Linked DNA regions of Homo sapiens: regions 2, 3 and 4 are each linked to region 1. The links are contacts of gene promoters, found by promoter capture Hi-C in human tissues and cell types (Jung and others, 2019). All regions are on one chromosome and are shown on one strand. The core of a region is centred on a gene start or on the middle of the fragment in contact, and the rest is flanking DNA. Distances in the headings are between cores, read along the strand shown.

The links. The method cuts DNA at HindIII sites, captures the fragments that hold promoters and counts their contacts. A contact is called where the count stands out against the background at its distance.
Region 2: a fragment that was not itself captured here is called in contact with the fragment with the promoter of TRPM2 in region 1 in 1 of the 25 tissues and cell types used here (lymphoblastoid cells).
Region 3: a contact is called between a fragment that was not itself captured here and the fragment with the promoter of TRPM2 in region 1, in 1 of the 25 tissues and cell types used here (lymphoblastoid cells).
Region 4: the fragment with the promoter of KRTAP12-2 here is called in contact with the fragment with the promoter of TRPM2 in region 1 in 2 of the 25 tissues and cell types used here (heart right ventricle and mesenchymal stem cells).

What each region holds. Positions count from the first base shown.
Region 1 is chr21:44,351,844-44,356,996 of GRCh38, forward strand. It overlaps TRPM2 (transient receptor potential cation channel subfamily M member 2), which reads left to right and starts at 1,778. Exons shown (of 32, transcript NM_003307.4): 1 at 1,778-2,022; 2 at 2,805-2,893. The coding sequence starts at 1,858. RefSeq lists enhancers at 1,994-2,043, 2,204-2,253. The HindIII fragment of the contact is 21,861 bases long and covers 1-5,153 here.
Region 2 is chr21:44,733,580-44,738,732 of GRCh38, forward strand. No RefSeq gene overlaps it. Among named protein-coding and RNA genes, the nearest start is that of TSPEAR, 25 kb to the left of the region's middle. RefSeq lists enhancers at 1,791-2,464, 2,465-3,140. The HindIII fragment of the contact is 6,322 bases long and covers 1-5,153 here.
Region 3 is chr21:44,015,675-44,020,827 of GRCh38, forward strand. The region is part of intron 1 of TRAPPC10 (trafficking protein particle complex subunit 10); the gene reads left to right. Among named protein-coding and RNA genes, the nearest start is that of TRAPPC10, 5.9 kb to the left of the region's middle. The HindIII fragment of the contact is 4,381 bases long and covers 814-5,153 here.
Region 4 is chr21:44,664,021-44,669,173 of GRCh38, forward strand. KRTAP12-2 (keratin associated protein 12-2) reads right to left here and starts at 2,907. Exons shown (of 1, transcript NM_181684.3): 1 at 2,169-2,907. The coding sequence starts at 2,866. The coding sequence ends at 2,426. All of the region lies in intron 1 of TSPEAR (thrombospondin type laminin G domain and EAR repeats), which reads right to left. The HindIII fragment of the contact is 12,719 bases long and covers 1-5,153 here.

The DNA.
Region 1 (5,153 bases), core at 528-3,027:
CTCTGGGATTAGAGGAACCTGCACAAGACCCCAGGGGCTGTGCTGAGGTGGACAGCTGCCTGAAAGATGAGCGTGTGAACAGAACATGCTGGTCTTAAGGCAGAGAGTCCCACACCGTGGACCCTCCCGTCTGATGCTGGGGTCTTCGTTTCCAGCGTGGAGCCATCCTCATCCCGTGCAGGGTGGACCGCCTGCCTGGGGAGCCACCTGCAGTCTGGGTCCCCTTGCGGTGCCACTGCGATCTCTCTAGAGCCTCCTCTTCCTCCTGCCACTGGGGACATCTCTGCCCCTCTGCTTCCCTCGGAAGCTGGTTGTGAAGCCGGGCCAGTGGCTGCGGGGACAGCTCATGGCCCTGGAAAGACCCCACTGGCATGCGGCACAACATCTGCTCTGAGAACTGCAGGAAAAGGCCGGGCAGGGCACCCCTGCCATCCTGCCAGTGAAGTTTACGGGTCTCGGAATGAGTGTGGCCAAGGGGCAAAGGGGAGGAGGGAGAGGGGGAGGTGGGGTTGCCTGAGAGTGCCCGCCCCAGGACAGCAGCCCGTAGCTCAGCCCCAAGAGCCCGGCACCGAGCTTCGAGCTGCGTGGCCCCGAAGAGGGGCTCAGTCACCTAATGTGATGAGGGGACGGCAGAGCAAAGGCTTGTCTGACAGTGACCGTCGTGTGTAGTGGAGAGGACGTGGCCAGAGATCTGGTTTCAGGGCAGGGATGAGGGGGGATTCCAGTCAGATCTTTTGCATCCCAGCAACCCTCCCCTTGACACCTTTGGGGCAGTGGCAGGGGATGACCATGGATGACCTCATGAGAACACTGTGGGTGTCAGGGACTCAGGGAGGCCCCGCAGGGCTTGAACATGCTTATGTTTCTCATTTGTAAAGGGAGGGCAGTCATCCGGTGGCTTCTTGTGGCCTCGGTGATGAAGGCCACATCAGAGCCAGGGGGAAAGGATATGAGAGAAAAAGATTCATTTGAATTATTGTCTTTTTCCTGGAGTGGAGAGATGTGGTACTCCCCAAAACTTCCTTTCTAGGCTGGGCACAGTGGCTCACGCCTGTAAAACCAGCACTTTGGGAAGCGGAGGCTGGTGGATCGCCTGAGGTCAGGAGTTTGAGACCAACCTGACCAACATGGTGAAACCCTGTTGCTACTACATACAAAAAAAATTAGCAGGGTGTGGTGATTGGCGCCCATAATCCCAGCTACTGGGGAGGCTAAGGCAGGAGAATCACTTGAACCAGGGAGACCGAGGTTGCAGTGAGCCGAGACTGCGTCACTGAACTCCAGCCTGAGCGACAAAGTGGGACTCCGTCTCAAAAAACAAGAAGAAAAAGAAACTTCCTTTGTGGACAGTGAGGGCTATTTAAAAAAATTTTGGAATATGAAAGTAGTCACTGGTGTCTGGAAGCAGGAGCTGTGCAGAATTGTACAGTTGCGAAACCATGTCGCTGGCAGCTGGTGCTGGCGGTGGAGACTTCCCTGTGCGGTGCTCAGTGCAGCTGCACCCGTGGGGGAGGGAGCTCTTTCTCTGGCCCTGCAGTCACCTGAGGTTGTTACCATTATGAACGGCCGCTGGGACCCCCGCATGTGCATGTACTCCCCCAGAGTGTCCGGGGGCCCCAGCCAAGGGACACAGCTCAGGCAGCTGGGAACATGTGCAGGCTGATGAAGAGAACCGGATGAGGGCTTCACATGAGGAAGCATGTGGCCAGGTCCTCTCAGAACATCAGCCTCATCTTCCTGTCTCTGATCTATTTCAGCAACCACCCCATGTGTCTCTAGAACCCCAGTGTAGCGAGCTGGAGAGAGGACTGTCCTGAGGGCAGCAGGCCTGGTTGCAGCTGGCGTGGGGGTCTCAGAATGGAGCCCTCAGCCCTGAGGAAAGCTGGCTCGGAGCAGGAGGAGGGCTTTGAGGGGCTGCCCAGAAGGGTCACTGACCTGGGGATGGTCTCCAATCTCCGGCGCAGCAACAGCAGCCTCTTCAAGAGCTGGAGGCTACAGTGCCCCTTCGGCAACAATGACAAGGTAGGCTTTCTGCTGGTCAGCCTGCAGTTGGCACGTGGCCACGGAGGTCACCGTTGGGCAGGTCATAGCTTGAGGCTGTGACGACGGGGGTGGGAAAGGGTCTGCTGACCTTGGGGGCTCCTGCCCAACCATACCTTTGGGAGAACAGAACTGGGGAGGGTGATGCGTGTCTCGTCTTCTGTGGGTTGCATGACCATTTCCCATGGTTGGTCTGATTGGGAAATCACCGGGTTAACTCAAAAATGTTGCGCTAGAGTCCTGGAAATCTGTTACCCGTGCTTACCTTGTTGCATAATGATTTCACATCCTTTATCCGATTGGGAGGGCCTGGGCCTGGGCTAGCTTTCCCCAAAGCCCTGGATACAAAGACACAAGTATGTTGAAAGCACATGGCATCTTGCAGTCCCCTTGCCAGGCAGGCAGGAGGGTGGCTGCCCTTTTTCCGATGGTGCAAGATCCAGGTCCCCAGATCCCCAGCCTCCACGTTTTCCACCACACCATGTTGTTCCCAAGGAAGGTGGTGGTGCTGTAGAAACTGTAAAGTGCGCGCACATTCAAAATGGTCCCAAGAGGAAATGATTTCTTAGATTCATTCCTCCCTCCTGAATCCCCACCGGAGAGTCTTGGCAAGGTGCTTCTAATCTTTGGCTCAGGGTCGCGCAGGCTTCCTTCCTTCAAGCAAATAGTGTGAAAGCTCCTCAAGGAGCTCAGATGTGTCTCCAGGGGGCTGGGTGTGCTCTTTCGAATGTTGGAAGATCTCAGTGTGCTGTCTTTACCTTCAGCAAGAAAGCCTCAGTTCGTGGATTCCTGAAAACATCAAGAAGAAAGAATGCGTGTATTTTGTGGAAAGTTCCAAACTGTCTGATGCTGGGTAAGTGACGTGATTTGTGTGTAAGACCTCTGACTTCTTCCTTCCGATCCCACATGGAGTAGCTGATCAGGCCAAGACCCCTCAGGGCCTCAGTGAAGGGTCACTGGAGATACCTCTGTCTCCATACGAGGCTTAGAGTCCACAGAGCATTTCCACCTAACCCTTGCAAGCCTCCTGTCGGGGACAGTTGACCCTCATCCTGCCTCGCAGGTGCAGGGACCAAAGTGCAGAGTTTAGGTGACTTGTTCAGGGTCATAAGGGCACTGTCGCGCGGCGAGGCCCAGTGGTGTGAACACAGATGCATCCTCTAATCCTCTCATTTCCACACCTGCCCCCACCCCAAGAGAGAGAGTCCCAGGGTCCAGGAACTGGAAGGGCCTTAGGGAGAGTCCATGGCCAGAAGACTGCCCCCCTGCACAGCTTGCCAAAGCCAGAGGCCCGACTTGCCCCCAGGCCCCACAGAGCCCCCTTTGCCCCTCCTCCCCACAGAGCCCACGACTCAGGTGTGGCCAAGACCCCCGCCCAGGCAACATGGCCACTGTCTCTGAGTGGCTGGATATGGCCCTCCGGAGCCGATGGTGCTCCCCGCAGTTGGCGCCCCTTTAGGCACGGACAGAGTGTTGATTCATGTTTGTGTGCCCTCCCCGAGCAACACCCATTTCATGCTCTTCCACAAATGGGCCACACGCTTCCTCCTTTTACTCCATTGCCTGGTGAGCTCCTACTTATCCCTCAAGGCCTATTGCAGATGCTGCCTCTGCCGTGCAGCCTTCCGTGACTATACAACCTCTACCAGGAAGTGAGCTTCCCTCCTACCGCACCGTGTGTTTCTCTTTGATCCCAGCTGTCGTGCTGTAACTGTGTGGCTTTGTGTTCATCTTTCTTGCTAGCTGCTGAGCTTCTGGGGGGCTGGGACGAAAGCAGAGTGTTGTGTTAATTCCCAGAGAGTGGCCTTCAGCTCATATTTACTGAATATGGGGAGGGAGAAGCATCCTGTGCTTGGGAAATAGAAGAAGACTGTGTTGCCCCAGGGTACCTCTAGTGTACTCGGTACATCATCAGAGTTTCACGGTCACCAATACAACAGCTGTCCCTCCGCATCCCTGGGGAATTGTTCCCGGACACCCACGGACACCAAAATCCCATATCTCGTATCAGTCCCAAAATCTCATATCAAGTCACTGATATGAGATGGTGTGGTATTTGCATATAAACTATGTACATCCTTCAGCATACTTTAAATCATCTCTAGATTACTTATAATACCTGATACAATGTAGATGTTATAAAAATAGTTATACTGCATTTAAAAAATTTGTATTTTTGGGCCGGGCGCGGTGGCTCACGCCTGTAATCCCAGCACTTTGGGAGGCCGAGGCAGGTGATCCACCCGCCTCGGCCTCCCAAAGTGCTGGGATTACAGGCGTGAGCCACTGCATCTGGCTATGTTATTTTTAATTGTTTTTTTTTTCCTGAATATTTTTAGTCTGCGTTTGGCTGAATCTGCAGATGCAAAACTCGCGGCCATGGAGGGCTGGATGTAGAGACAGTGATGAAGAGCCCCATGTGGAAGGAGCGGGGTCTGTAGAGCAGTGGTACTCCAGCCTCGGAGCTCACCCTTGTTACTGGAAAGGGGTCCCGATCCAGACCCCAAGGGCGGGTTCTTGGATCTCACACGAGAAAGTATTTGGAGCGAGTCCACAGAGTAAAGTGAAAGCAAGTTATTAACAATGTAAAGGAATAAAAGAATGGCTTCTCCATAGGCAGAGCAGCCCTGAGGGCTGCTGCTTGGCTATTTTTTTTTTTTTTTTTTGAGACGGGGTCTCGCTCTGTCGCCCAGGCTGGAGTGCAATGGCATGATCTTGGCTCGCTGCAACCTTCGTCTCCCAGGTTCATGCGATTCACCATGTTGGCCAGGCTGGTCTGGAACTCCTGACCTCAGGTGATCCACCAGCCTTGGCCTCCCAAAGTGCTGGGATTTCAGGCATAAGCCACCGTGCTTGGCTGGTTGGCTATTTTTATGGTAGTTTTGGATCATGTGCTTAACAAGGGTGGATTATTCATGAGTTTTATGGGAAAGGAGCGGGGATTTCCCAGAACTGATTTCCTCTTTCTTTCAGACCATACAGGGTATTTCTGATGTTGCCATGGCATCTGCCAACTGTCATGGTGCTGGTGGGAGTGTCTCTTACATGTTAATATGTTATAATTAGCGTGTAATGGGCAGCGAGGATAACCAGAGCCCACTTTCGTCGCCATC
Region 2 (5,153 bases), core at 1,125-3,624, 380 kb after region 1:
TCTCATCAACAAACAGAAAACATTCATGTCTCCCAAGAGTCCAAGGGTCTTAGGAGCTAGGACAAAATATTGTAACACGTGATGTTTCTCTCACCCCATCGCTCAGGAAGTTACAAGGGCTTTAAAAGCTCCATGCCAGGAATCTGTTTCTGATTATGCCACGGGGCCTTCTAGTACCGGGGCAGAGGCTACATCCAGGCTACTGCACGGCTGTGTTTCTGGAAGAGCAGATCCATACGGAGTGTGACCTGACTCTTGGGCAGGTTTTCGGCTGTCTCTGATGGCTGTGCCTGCCCTCCCTGCCCCTGGAGCTGGGCCTGGCAGTGGGTCTTCTGGGTGGGGGCGATTGCTGGCTCTTGGCTCTGACTGCTTGCTTCCTGGGCCTTGGGCCATGGGCAGCAGAGACTCAGGGCATGGGGTACTCCCTCCCCTTGAGCCTTGAGTAACTTCAACCCTCCTTGGACTTGCAACATGCAAAAATAGATCTTGGCTGTTTTGACCCACAGGGATGTGGGCTGCACGTTATGTGAGCTGAATGGCGCATCTGGGCCTGTGTCTCGTGACTGACTCAGCTGCTTTGGCTCTTGGCCTCGGAGTGTAGGGTGCCCGGCCTCGGAGCATTACCCCCGGGAGGTAAAACCCTTGTGGGGTCAGGACATGTCATCCATGAGAAAGTGCCACGTGGCCTGAAGTCAGCATCCCCACACATGCTGTGGCTCTCTGTCCTCTCTGAATGTCACTGCTCGAGATAGGGCCCGGCTTGGGTGGGGCTGCAGGCGGGGTTAAACTGCCCCTGGGTGAGAGGGAAGAGCAAATCCCTTCACTTCGCTGGGCTTCCATTTCCTGACCCATAAAATGGGAACCCTGCTGGTGGCCATTGCCCTGCCTCCCCGAGTTCCTACAAAGCAGGTGGCCTGGGTCTGGGCTCAGCCCCCTCCACTGGGCCAGGAGATAATGCCATTAGTGTAACCACAGCAGTGGCCACTCCCAAATGCCACTCGGCCCCTGGAAACTCAGCCTTCCATCCAAAAGGTCCCCGAAGTGGGGAGCGGCCCCTCAGTCATTCCACACAGCAGGCCCCACCCACCCCCCCGTGCCGGGGATACACGTGCTCAGGGCACACTCCATATGGATCTGTCGTCTGCCTCGATGACTTTTCACCCACACATGGGATTCAAGGCATGATACGGGTCTTTAGGACATAACTGTTTAATTCCTGAGCTTCCCAAAACTCGGAGGTTTGGGAGAAATGGGGCTGGAGCTAGAGCAATAGCCATGTGCCCTGTGGACTCTGGCCAGCTCTTGCTGCCATCCCGCCTGCCCCGGCCCCGTCCTCTTCCAATTCCCGTTTACAGCCCTGCCCTCCGTGCCTGTCCCAGGCACCTCTGGCCTCCTCGCTGTGGCCCATGCCAGGTCATTCCCTACTGTCAGAGCCTCCCTCTCCCAACCCCAGGCCCCGGCTGCAGGGAGGGTGCCAACAGGAGGGGGCAGGACAGGAGAGGCCCCATCCCCGGAAATGAGACCAGAGCCGCTCTGGGAATGGCCAGGGCTGCCCGGCGGCAAGTCACGAGCAGGGCGTCACTGTCCCAGCGCGGCTTCCCAGCCTCCTGCAGGGGCCAGGGTTGGGGTGCATTCTCTGTCTTCTCAGTGAGGACGCGCAAATGTTCCAGGATGGAAGATAAATGTTCAGGAAAACGAGGACCCAGAAATTCTTCATGGGCTGCATGAGCCCTGAGGCCCGACTGGCAGGCCACTGAGGTCACCTGAAAAACTGGTGACAACGGGCGGGCTCAGCGGCTACCCGGGGACAATCACGGCAGGCGGAAGAGCGGCACTGGCGTGGAGCTCCCAGGCTCTGTGAGGCTCCAGGCAGCGCCCTCTCCAGCCCTGGCAGCCAGGCTGGGGTCCCCAGCTCCCAGTGTTTACCCAGCAGGCCCTGCCTTCTGACAAATTAACTCTGAAAGGCTTAAAAAGTGTGCCGTGTGCTTTGGCTCTGACCTAAGATAGACGACACAGCAGAACACACAGAGGGTGTCCCACTTGAGGAGCCTCCACACAGGCAGCGAGGTAATCCAAAGCTCTGAATTCCAGGTCAGGCCCACGCACCACGAGGAGAGAGGAAGCAGATGGTCCTCCTTGCAGGGATGTGTCACGTCCTCCCACAATACACAGGGTCTCCATCCCCCAACGGGGTCACGGGTGCTCCCTGCAGGGTGCAAGACAGTGTCCTTCCTTGTGGTCTAGGCTGGAGAAAGGTAGACTTCAGGGGAGAAGAGCTGGTTCCTCTCAAGGTGGCGGCCAGCTGAGATGTCAGGAGTGCCAGTGTCCTGGGGCTGCTGTGACAACAGCCACAAACCAGGCAGCTTAAAGCAACAGAAAAGTCTTGTCTCAGGCCTGGAGCCAGAGGTCTCAGATCAAAGTGTCACTGGGCCGCACTGTCTCTGGAGGCTCCAGGGGAGGATCCTTCCTGCCTCCTCCAGCTCCTGGCAGCTGTGGTGTTTCCCGGCCTGTGGCCGCATCACTGCAACCTCTGTCTCCCTTGTCATGCGGCCACCTGCTGAGTCTCTGTCTCCACACGACCTTCACATAAGGACATATGCCTCTTGGGTTAGGGCCACCCCAATGACCTCACCTGCACTTGATTATACCTGCAAAGACCCTTTTTCCAAATAAGGGCATATTCACAGGAAAAAGACTTCAGCATCTTTTTTGGGGTGGCCATGCAGAATCATGGGTGTTTCTGTGGGCCACTGCAGAGGGCCTGAAGTCCAGCCTGTCAGTGGTGAGCTAGGGAAACTGAGGCAGAGAGATCCAGAGGATTCTTTGAGGCACAGCAAGCTGGAGAGGAGCTGGGCCTGCTCCTGGCCGGATCCTCTGGGGCTCTCCAGAAGCCTCGCCTTGAGGCCGTCACAAAATCCCTGTCCTGTTGCCACATCCCTGGGTACCCCAGGCCCACCTGACTTCCCACTCTGTCCTAGCCAGCAGCAGCAGGGCCGTTGCAGGCTCCACATGCTTCCAGGGCACCAGCCCTCCCCGAGTGACACCCCCTTCTCATCATCTGCCAGTTCACCCACACAAGAGTACACAGGAGGAGTGGGCATCTTTTTTAGGGTCCCTCTGGCAAAGCTGCACAAGGTTCACTGAGATGATCATTTACAGTAGGCTGCATGTCCAGAGGCCAAGGAAATAGCCTGGTGGGAACAAGTTAGCAAACACGGTGAGGACACCACAGTCCAGCTGAACTCACAGAGCACGGGCACCAGGCCAACATAGTGAGTGACGCAGCTGCCCTGACTGGGCTGGGCATCCATGGGAGGGGCAGACACTGGTGCTTAGCAAGGACCTGCAGGGCCCTGTACCCTGAGATAAATCACAGCTCCCTCCTGAGAGCCCTTCTGGGTGTCCCCCATCTGCTGTGGGGCCACAGAGGCCATGTCATGGTGGATCATGGAAACAAACGTCCCACAGAGGGGAAAGCAGAGAGAGATGGGGCAGCTGGGATGCAGCAAGCAACAGGCCAAGCCTCTCTGAGAAGGGACTTGATGCAGAGGCCCTCTGCAGGGGACAAAGTTGAAGTTTCCAGAGAACAGCCAGGGGAGGGGTGGGGTGGAGGGCAGGGGGAGGGGGAAGGACAGGTGGGGGCTGGGCAGGTGAGCAGGGGAGGGACAGGCGAGTGGGGGCAGGCTTCATGTGTTTTGTGGGCAGGGAAGGGTGTCTGTGTCTTACTCTGGTGTAACAAGGAGCCAGGGAGGGTTTGAACAGGGTGGGGTGCATGATCTGAGCACCAGGGAGAGGAGACTTGGGGGCAAAGGTGGGAGCAAGAGACTGTTGGGAGGATCTAGGATATCCTGGAGAAATGATGCTTGGATAAAAATAACACATTTTAAAGGCTGGACAGACAGAGCTGAAGGAGGATGAGATGTGGATGTGAGGGAGGAGAGCAGGCATGGGGAGCCCTCTTCCCTTACACACCACTGCTTGGCCAAACAGCAGGCAGAACAAAGGATAGGGATAGCCTGCCACTGCGTGGACTCTGGTTTTTCTCCCACTGGTCAAAAATGCAGCGTGAAGAGTGATTTGGGGGAAAATGAATTTAAAAGGTGTCATATTCCAAAGCATTTTGAGTAATAGAGGAAGTTTCTTCCAAATGGATGAGGGAAATAAATGATTTCCCCCAAATTGTCTCCCCTCTCAGCCCAGCCCTCATCCATTAAACAGGCAGCCTGCTTCTTCTAACAGCCCACTTGAACAGTGGAGTTTGAATCCAAAGATGGAGGAAGAACCTCAGAGCATGGAAGACAAGAGACTCAGCCTGGGCGTGGCAGGGAGGGCTTCCTGAAAGACAGGGTGCATAAGACAGGTTTTGAAGAAGGGGTTTTGGGGTGGAAAAACAAGGGGGACAGGAGTTTCAGGCAGAGAACATGCTGGTGGATGCCAGAGCATCCAAAAAGGAGAGTGCAGGAGATTCTCAATCAAGATATGCTCGCAAAGGAGCCGACATTCACCAGAAAGCTCATTAGAGGCCTTAAGAGCTCACCACAAACTGTCATGAAGGCAGAACCAGAACCAAATGTTTTCTTTGTTTATGAAAGGCAACATGGCTCTTATGCACCTGGTGGAATGTACAAGTCATGTTTATTTGGGGGCAATCTCTCAGTATTTAAAATGGCAATACCTCTGACCCAGTGATTCCTGTTTGGGACTTTTTTTTTATATATACAGATTTACCTCCACATACATATAACAACATGAGAACCAAAATATTATGGCAGTGCTGTTTAAGAACAGAAGATGGAAACAAATTGGCTGTCAATACAGAGGGGACTGAGTAAAGGTTGGGATGCCAATTCAAGGGACACTATGCAGCCACTCAAATGAAGACGATACATCTGGACATTTTCCATGACACAAGATCCCAGATAGATCATTAAGAGAAGCAAAGATGGCAAACAACCATCTTTCGAAGGATGTATGAATCCAGCAGCTGGCAGAAATGGATTGGAGGAAGTCATCATCACTCTATGCAACTCTAAATCATGTTCCCGCATCGCTACTCAAAATACTCAATCTGAGTCAAGGCCTTGGTCTGGCAAGCACCAGCTAATTGGGCTCTCTGTCCTTCCTGCAGAGACCTCTGAGCAGCAGCTGCCTGG
Region 3 (5,153 bases), core at 1,754-4,253, 330 kb before region 1:
CGCGATCTCGGCTCACTGCAACTTCTGCCTCCCGGGTTCAGTCGATTCTCCTGCCTCAGCCTCCCAAGTAGCTGGGATTACAGGCGTACACCACCATGCCCACCTAATTTTTGTATTTTAATAGAGACACAGTTTCACCTTGTTGGCCAGGCAGGTCTAGAACTCCTGACCTCAGGTGACCTGCCCGCCTCGGCCTCCCAAAGTGCTGGGATTACAGGCGTGAGCCCCCGCACCTGGCCCTAAATGTTTTAATAGACTTTAGCCCATAATTAAACCTCCTGCCTAACGGGCTCCTGTGAAGAGGGACTAGCACAGTAGGGGCCTTCTTAAACTCAGAACTAGTTACAGCTTGTAAATACTGAAGAGTGTATGTGAAATGTGCAGGGATGGGAGCTGAACAGTTAGTGGAACTAATGCTTTGACGGGGTTGGGTGATGAATGACCGAATCATAGCAATAGGAAAACTTGTAGTATATTTTATTAATCATGAAAAATGCCTGGCGTAACTGAAACAAATCCAGCAGATCCATTTGGTCTAAATTTAAATTTTAGCGTAGATTTGTTTTTCAGCCACAGGGTCAGTTTTCTGTTTTGAAATAGACTTGGGTTTCTGTTCCAAGGGTGTATTAGGAAAGACACGTTCCTTTTCCAGCCATCTCATTCAGTTAGTGACAAAGTTAATGTAATTCCAGTGATTTGTGGCTTTTCTTTGTTGACTGTCCTCATACCTACAATAGCACATACCTGTTATTAGCTTGGAATTGAATTTCTCTGAACAATAATAGTACCCTCCCTCTAGGTGATCTGTTCTCATTAGTCACATCTGTTGCCTGTTTCATTTTTCTGAGTTTCTGTATTTGGGGTTCCAGGTCTGATATTAGAAACTTTTAAAGGGGAAAACAGGCAACAGAAATGAGCAGATATGTAGAGCTTCGTGTCTGGTTGGACTTTGGGATTTTCCCCTGTAGGTTAAAATTTTTTTAATTTTAATTTTTATTTTTTGAGACGGAGTCTTGCTTTGTTGCCCAGGCTGGAGTGCAGTGGTGTGATCTTGGCTAACTGCAAGCTCCGCCTCCCGGGTTCACGCCATTCTCCTGCCTCAGCCTTCCGAGTAGCTGGGACTACAGGCGCCCGCCACCACGCCTGGCTAATTTTTTGTATTTTTAGTAGAGACGGGGTTTCACCGTGTCAGCCAGGATGGTCTTGATCTGACCTTGTGATCTGCCCGCCTCAGCCTCCCAAAGTGCTGGGATTATAGGCATGAGCCACCGCGCCCAGCCAGGTTAAAGTTTTTAAATTTGCACATTGAAATTTTCTACTAAACCTGAAAATGTGGTGCTTGCGATTTAACCATCACTAGTTTTACTACCAGAAAAGTCACTTGAAATGTCTGTTTAAATGGGTGAATATGTTATAAATGCAGATTTTGTTTCATATTGAATTCTCAAGGCAATGTTGAACCAAAGATTGAAAAGTAGGAGAAACATTCTTCTTAGGAAATCGCAGTTGTTGCAGAGAGTATGTATTTGGAGGCGGGGACTAAAGGCACCAACAAATGTGCTTAACTTACTATGTCATTTCTACCCGAGCATGGTTACAAACCATTCCATCTTGTACGCATGACCTCGGTTCTTACATAATTTCACAGACCCTTAGCTGTGAAACGGGTACAGTACCAACCCCATCGGGTTGAGAAGGGTGTGTAAAGCACTCAGGAGAGTGTCAGGATTATAGTCAGTGTGCAAAAAAAGTTACTAAGGAGAGGTTCCTCAATTTTCTCTGTTCACAATGCTTTTAGTGTCTCGGTAATTTTTTTCATGGCATCTCTAGGCTAAAAGGAATACTTAAAAATTCCATTTATTAAGTAGTTAGATTCCAGTAATTTATTAAATATTATGTCCTAACAAGAGCTGTTTGAAAAAAAATATATATAAGTTGGAAGAAAAAAATATTTTCATCATTCTTCCTAATTGCAGCAGTGTGCTACGTGGGGGGCAGGCCCTGCGGGAGCTCTGTGGCACCTCTCACCTGAAGGTCGGATTGGACGCTGCTTCTCCCTTTGGTTTTTTTTTTTTCTTCTTCTTTTTGGTGGTACTTGCTTTTTATCAGAGCAGCCACCCTGTTTTGCGACGATAATGATGTCATCGAAAGAAGTGGAGCCCTGATCTGATGTTGACACTGTGAATACCTTGTGTGGGGTTCCTACACCACAAGCATTGCTGTTTCCCTCATAAATTTAAAATATCTCTTGGTGCCTCTCTGCGTAGTGTGTGGGAAGCCTAGGTACACAGTTTGGGAACCCGTGCTGTTAGTGTTATTAGCCCAACTCCAGGGTGGATTTGAACTGATACTTTAGAATTGAAAAGCTTCCTTTCTTTTCAGCTCACACACCTACTTTACTACAAGATGTGTTTCTGAAGAGTTTCTAGTAAGTTCTTTATGCAAATGAAATGGAAAGGTCTGATTTTCTTTTTTTTTTTCTTTTTTTCTTAAGTGCTGATGAATCTCTGAAATAATCAAGTATGATACAGCTTGGGCAACATAGGGAATTCCTATCTCTACAAAAATGAAAATAAAAAAGTTAGCCAGGTGTGGTGGTGTGCGCTTGTACTCCCAGCTACTTGGGAGGCCGAGGCGGGAGGATCACTTGGACCTGGGACGTCAAGGCTGCAGTGATCTGTGATTGTACCTCACACTGCAACCTGGGTGACAGAGCAAGACCTGGTCTCAGAAAAAAAAATAAAGGCTGGGCGCAGTGACTCATGGCCATAATCCCAGCACTTTGGGAGGCCAAGGTGGGTGGATCATGAGGTCAAGAGATTGAGACCACCCTGGCCAACATGGTGAAACCCCGTCTCTACTAAAAATACAAAAATTAGCTGGGCGTGGTGGCTCGCGTCTGTAGTCCCAGCTACTCGGGAGGTTGAGGCAGGAGAATTGCTTGAATCTGGGAGGCGGAGGTTGCAGTGAGCCGAGATCATGCCACTGCACTCCAGCCTGGCGTGAGACTCCGTCTCAAAAAAAAAAAAAAAAAAGTATGTCGGGCATAACACATGAACCAGTCTTTCCTTAGAGAGTTTTTGCTGTGTGCTTCCACCAGAGGCCTGCCAACTGACAGTGTGATTGTGTGGCTCACTCTGGCTGAGTTGGTTATCTTTTAATGGAAATACAAATAACTGACTTAAGGATTTTTTTGTCGTAGGAAAGTTTGTTGCCAGTTGACAGAGTGTCTTCCCTGGAGTCGCATGCCTTAGTGTGTAAGTGTGTGGTCTCCAAAGGTATTGCACACTGATCTCCAAGTACTGACCCTCCCACCCCCGTGCTCCACTCTAGACCTGGTGGCTTTAGATCTGGAGTTAGAGACCAGCAACGGCAGAAGATTACAGGGTCTTTTTTTTTTAAGACATGGTCTCACTGTGTCGCCCAGACTGGAGTGCAGTGGCATGATCTCGGCTCACTGCAGCCTTGACCTCCTGGGGTCAGGTGATTCTCCCACCTCAATCTCCCGAGTAGCTGCTTGTGTGCCACCATGCCCAGTTAATTTTTTGTATTTTCAGTAGAGATGGGGTTTCGCCATGTTGCCCAGGCACGTTTTGAACTCCTGGATTCAAGCAATCCGCCCTCTTTGGCCTCCCAAAGTGCTGGGATTACAGGCATAAGCCACTGTGCCCAGACAGCTGCAGGGTCTTAAACAGTCAAAACATTCCCACCTCAGTGCCTGCCTCTGTGGTGGGTTGCCTCAGAGCTTCCTGTGGCTTCCTGTCCTGTGTCTCACCTTCTTTCTTCCTCAAATCTTTCCTCTATCTGCTCTTAATGTCAAATATAGTCACAGTATTTTGGCCTTAGAGAATATTTGTTTTTAAATTAAAAATTGATAACCTTGGAGTCATTTATGACTTCTTTTTTCTCTCACAACTGACATTATCTTTGAAATATATCTAGAATCCAGCTATATATAGGGCCTGCCTGGATAATCTGGGATAATCACATCTTGAGCTCCTGAACTTAATTAAGTCTACAAAGACCCCTTTCCCAAATAAGGTGACATTCACAGGTTTTGAGGGTTAGGATGTTGTGGGGCACCATGCCACCTGCCGCACCACTGTCTGTGTTAGCTACCAAGCGCGCAGTGGCCGGCATTCATCAAGCGTCTTTGGTTTTAGACAGCTGCGTCTGTCTTTGGAGGTTTGTCCTTCGTGTACTCCTGACCGAGGGAATGTTATCTTGACATTTGGGCTTCTGGGTTCTAGATGTGGTTACAAGGTGGGGTGATCCCTTCTTAGGAAAAGTCCAGCCTCTTCTGTGCTCTCTCCCTTATGTGGCTTTTTGGACATTTGTTACATGGTGTTTAATTTCTGAATATTATTTTAGGCCCCTGTTTGCAATTTTTTTTTTTTAACAGTGACCAGGGACCATTCCATTGTATGTTTGGACATTTTTCTTTTCTTTTCTTTTTTTTTTTTTGAGACAGAGTCTCGCTCTATTGCCCAGGCTGGAGTGCAGTGGCGTGATCTCGGCTTACTGCAAGCTCCGACTCCGCCTCCTGGGTTCACGCTATTCTCCTGCCTCAGCCTCCCGAGTAGCTGGGACTACAGGCGCCCACCACCACACCTGGCTAATTTTTTTGTATTTTTAGTAAGGATGGAGTTCACCGTGTTAGCCAGGATGGTCTCGATCTCCTGACCTTGTGATCTGCCCGCCTCGGCCTCTCAAAGTGCTGGATTACAGGCATGAGCCACCGCGCCTGGCCCATTTTTCTTATTTTTAACTGAGATCTGTTAGCAGTTTGAAGCGATTGTATACATTTCAGAGTTAGCTGGGCATGGTGGTGCGTGCTTCTAGTCCTAGCTACTTGGGAGACAGGCCAGAGGATCGCTTGAGCCCAGGAATTTGAGGCTGCGGTGAGCCATGTTTGTGCCACTTCACTCCAGTCTGGGCGACAGAGTGAGACCCTGTCTCAAAAAACAAAAAACAAAAAAAAACAATTTCAGGGTTGAAATTTTTAGCAGAGCCTTGGAACTGACAACCACCTGTTTGGATAGTAACTTTAACTCAATCTGTAGCTTGCCATTTGTGGGCACTGTCAGTTCACCTAGACCAGTCAGCAAGCTCTAAACATCCAGGTTAATGAGAAGGGCCGTCAGAAGTCATTT
Region 4 (5,153 bases), core at 1,657-4,156, 310 kb after region 1:
TATGCTTTCCCCTTAAAATCAACAACAAAGCAAGAACATTCACTTTTGCCTCTGCTATTTATTACCATACTGGACTTCCTAAACAGTGAAGTAAAAAGCATGCAGCCTGGAAAGAAAGAAATAACACAGTCTCTATTAACATATTACATTATTGTCTACCTAGAAAATCCCCAAAATTCTACAATAAAGCTACAAGAACTAGTAAGTGAATTTAACAAGGTCAAAGAAAAAATGCCAATATACAAAAATCGATTTTATTTTAATATACTAGCAATGAACAATCAGAAATTGAAACTTAAAAATAGTACCATAATAGCATTAAACTTATAAAATACTTAGGGATAAATTCTGGGGGAAATATATAAAATGTATACATTGAAAACTACAAAATATTGATGAGAAGAATCAGAGAAAACCTAAATAAATAGACCATGTTATGGATTGCTGGATATGTCGACTCTCCCCAAATTGATCTATATAGTTTCAATACACTCCCAATCAAAATCTCAGCACAAATTCTGTAGATATTGATAAGCTTATTCAAATATCTATATGGAAAGACAAAGAAACTAGAGTAGCCTAAACAACTTCTTAAAAGAAGAACAAAATTGGAGAACTCACACTAGCTGATTTCAAGACCTACTATAAAGCTGCATTTATCAGGGCAGGATGGTGTTGGCAAAAAGATACTTAGCATATGACCCAGCTATTCCACTCCTAGACATTTACCCAAGAGAAAGAAACAAATACGTCCATGCAAAAACCTGGACTTGCTAACAAATGCCCCATGTGGAGCACTAGCATCACAGAACTTGGGCTCCAAGTGGCCCTGAGGGCCACAGCTCCAGAGGGCGGGGGCTGAGCCAGGCCTCATCCATGCTTCTCTGTGCACAGGGCAGGTAGGTTCTCCAGAAGCATTTTTTGGTTACCAACCCTCCCTCCTCTCATGCTCTGATTTCCAGTTTGACCTCTAACTCCCAGCCTGGGGGACCAGAGTGCTTACGTGTGTGCATAAGTGTGTGCACGTTGTATAGTGCACACATTGGGTGTGTTCATGGATTCGAATGTGTTCGGCTGCAAGCATTTATATGTCTGGGTTGATTGGTTCCATTTCTCACTCAGTTTTATCCAAAGCCTCCCAGTTTAAACTACACAATAGGTCCCTGACCACCTTGCCTAAAAGATGATGAAACCAGTTTTTTAACCCTAAACTCAACACTTGCCTCCAAGGCAAATAAAAATCTTGGAATCGAAGGCAGCCAGTAGTGAGAACGTTCTTCAGGGGACAGTTCTGGGCTATGCTATCTGGAATAGCAGACTCCTGGGGCAAGAGGGCTGGCCCATCTACTGGGGAACGTTTAACCTGAGACAGTCACAGCAGAGCCCCCCAGGAGGGGAATACAGCCCAGACAGGGGAAATGCAGAAGAATGCTACCAGCACAACGCAGACTGGGAAAAGCAAGTTCCAGATTACATTCTGAATAATTTCCTTTTCATATCACCAGAAATTACTAAATTAGAAAACACCCATTTCAGGAATACATAGAGATATGACTCAACTCTATTTTTTCTAGAAAGTAACAGAATAAGGAGCACACAATCCCAACAGTGGCTGCCCCAAGAAGTTCTTGGTAAATTATTGATGATGTTCTCATTTCTATGTCAGGCAGTGGGTTCATGCGGGTTTATTATATTAGGATCCTCAGTAATTGATCATCAGTCAATCAATAAAAACCAAGCCTTTGTGGACCAGTGATGGGAGTGTGTGCCGCAGAACTAATCCAGTTCTGTAAACTTGAGATCCTCCGCGACCTGGGAAACAGGACGTCCACCAACCACATCAGAAAACCCAATTGTCAATGCTCTGAGGCTTTGGCCATCAGTGCAGGGCTTGTTGGCCTGGAGCAGGAGTGGACAGCCAGTGGGGAAGCGAGACCACTCTACCACAGGCGGGTAAGTCACTTCTGTGGCCACTGCACCTGGGCCCCAGGAGCCCTGGGAGAGACCACATGGGCATCTGCAGCTGCGCCCTCCACCCGGGACACCACCTTCTGATGAGCACTGGGTGAAGGGATCACTGAAGAGGGTTTAGCAGCAAATTCTATGTAATCAGCAGAATAGATAGCAGGGAGTATGGAAATAAAAAAGAAAGACCAGAAATGCAGAGCTGCATGGGGAAAGCTGGTTTATTTGGCTCTCATGGGGTCAGAGAATGACTCTGGGACCCCAGACTTCCCTGGGGGGATGGGCAAGGTCAGCAAGGGCTCCAGATCATTCTGTCACATTCTCAATCCAGAATTCAGAGGGTTCAACTGAGCATGCTTTTCACCTGCACCATGTGCAGAAGACCAACTGAGGACTCATCCAGGGAGTGTACAGGTGTGGCCTCATCTGCACTGGGAGCAGCGGGTCTGGAGATTCATGCTCAGCAGCAGGAAGAGATACTGTAGGAGATGGGTCTGCAGAGGACGCTGGTGCAGGAGGGCTGGCAGCACCCAGAGGACTGGCAGGACGGAGCCGCATACACGACAGGCCTGCAGCTCACAGGCACGCACAGGGAGGACTGGCAGGAGGGGGCTGCACACACAATGGGCCTGCAGCTCACAGGCACACACACAGAAGACTGGCAGCTCACGGGCACGCACACAGCTGACTTGAAGCTCATGGGCACACACACAGAAGACTGGCAGCTCACGGGCAGGCACACGGCTGGCTTGAAGCTCACGGGCACACACACGGAGGACTGGCAGCCCACAGGCACACAGCAGGATGCCTGGCAGGAGCTGGGCACACAACAGGCTGGCTGGCAGGGGCTGGGCGCGCAGCAGGCTGGCTGGCAGCCCGAGGAGCAGCTGGTATGACACATGGTGGCGTGTGGCTGGATAAGGTCGAGGCAGAGGGCAGTGATGTCTGGGGACGGCCTCCCTGGGCAGCCTTTATACCTGGGCCCAGGCATCCCCACAGCACAGAAGCACACCTGTCTTCCTTGTTTTTCTTCCTCAGTGCTGTCTCCTGGAGCTTAATTTTCTGTTGTAGGTGTCTCTGGGTTTTGTTTGGCCCTTAGCTTCATGACTAATTGCACCTTCTTCGAACTCTTGGTATGCTTGGAAACCTGCCAGAGTGTTTTACTGGCTTCATCAAGATTCTTCCTTGTTCTTTAAAATTTTACCTGAGTTACTTTTGTGAGATTCCAAAAACTCAGATCTCCAGATTTTTTTCCTCTCTGTGTGATGATGGTCCTTAAACCACAGAAGTTTACACTCCTCTCATGGCTCAGGAAGGCTCCACAGTCAATGTGAGGTAGAACAGGACGTGTCTAGCTGATCTGTGGGTGTCCTGAGAGCTTAGAGCTGGATGAGAGCTAGCAGATGGAGGAAGAACATGGAAATCACTTGTCCATAGGATGAGTGGGGACAAAGGGTGTGGGTCACAGAGAACTTCTTGTGAGTGGTGACCATGGATCTTTGTCTTGAGAAATCCTCCTAGTTAAGAACCAAGATGAGACAACACCACTGGCCCTCATGCATGGAGACACAGCTCTAAGGAAATCAAGCTGGTCCAAGCATGTTCCCAGGGAAGCATGTGAGGCCAGTGAAGGGTCCCATGGACAGCCACAGCAGGATATGTGTGAGCTGAATATAGAAGGTTCCAAGGGCCAGAATGACTTCTGGGTATGTTCAGCAGAAAGCCATGTGCACCCTGTACTGCAGGGACAGTAGAATCTCTGAGCCTACAGATGTCAACACCAGATCACTTGGAACTTGGCATCATGATAACAGAATGAAGGAAAAAACCACGTGATCATCTCAATTGATATAGAAAAGGCATTTCACAAAATTCAAGATTCTTTCATGATGACAACAATCAACAAACTAAGAATAGAAGAAAACTACCTCAACACAATACAAGCCATACATGAAAGACCCACAGCAAGCCTCATACCCACTGGTGAAAAACTGAAGGCTTTTTCTCTAATATTGGGAACAAAGCCAGCATAGTACTAGAAGTTTTACTAAGAGCAACTAGGCAATTGTTTTTAAAAGGAAGAAAGAAAGAAACAAAAAGCATCCAAATTGAAAAGCAAGAAGTAAAGTTAGCTGTGTTCACAGATGACATGATTTTTATATGTAGAAAACTCTAAATATTCCACACACAAAAATTTTAGAATAAATGAATTCAGCAAAGTAGCAGGATACAAAAGCAAAACACAAAAATCAGTTCTATTTCCATAAACTAACAAGCATAATCTCAAAAGGAAAGTACAATAACAATTCCATTTACAATACATTAAAAAGAACAAAATACTCAGGAGTTAACCAAAGAATTAAAATAATTGTGTAACAAAAACTACAAAACGTTGAAAGAAATTAAAGGCAACAGAAATAAATGGAAACACATCCCATGTTCATGAATTGGAAATTAATATTGTTAATATGTCCATACTAACCAAAGCAATCTACAGATTCAATGCAATCCCTGTCAAAATCCCAAGGACATTTCTTGCAGAAATAGAAAAACCCATCCTAAAGTTTATGTGGAGTCTCAAGGGACCCTAAATAGCCAAATCAATCTTAAGAAAAGAATAGAGCTGGAGGAGTCACACTTTCTGATTTCAAAACTTACTACAAAGCTACACTAATCAAAACTGTGGTACTGGCATAAAGACCAATATATAGACTAATGGAATAGCATAGAGAGCCCAGAAATAAACTCTCACAACTACAGTCAAATAATTTTCGGCAAGGCTGTCAAGACCTTTCAGTGAGGGAAGAACAGACTTTTTAACAAATGGCAGTGGGAAAACAGGATATCCACACACAAAAGATTATTTTTAACCCTTACCTCACACCATATACAAAATTAACTCAAGATCAAAGATAGAGAATCTCAGTAGGGAAATTGAAACTATTTTTTAAATGGGAATGCTAGAACTAAAATGTACAATAGCTGATATTTTAAAATCCACATGATAGACGTAAATATAGAATGAGATTGAAGAAGAGTTCATGAACTTGAAGCACATCAATAGAAATTATCCAAAATGAAGGAGAGGAAGAAAAAGAATTAAGAAAAATGAAAAGAGCCTGTGAGACATCATTAAACAGCATCACATATATGTAATATCAAACTCAGGTGGCTCACGCCTGTAATCC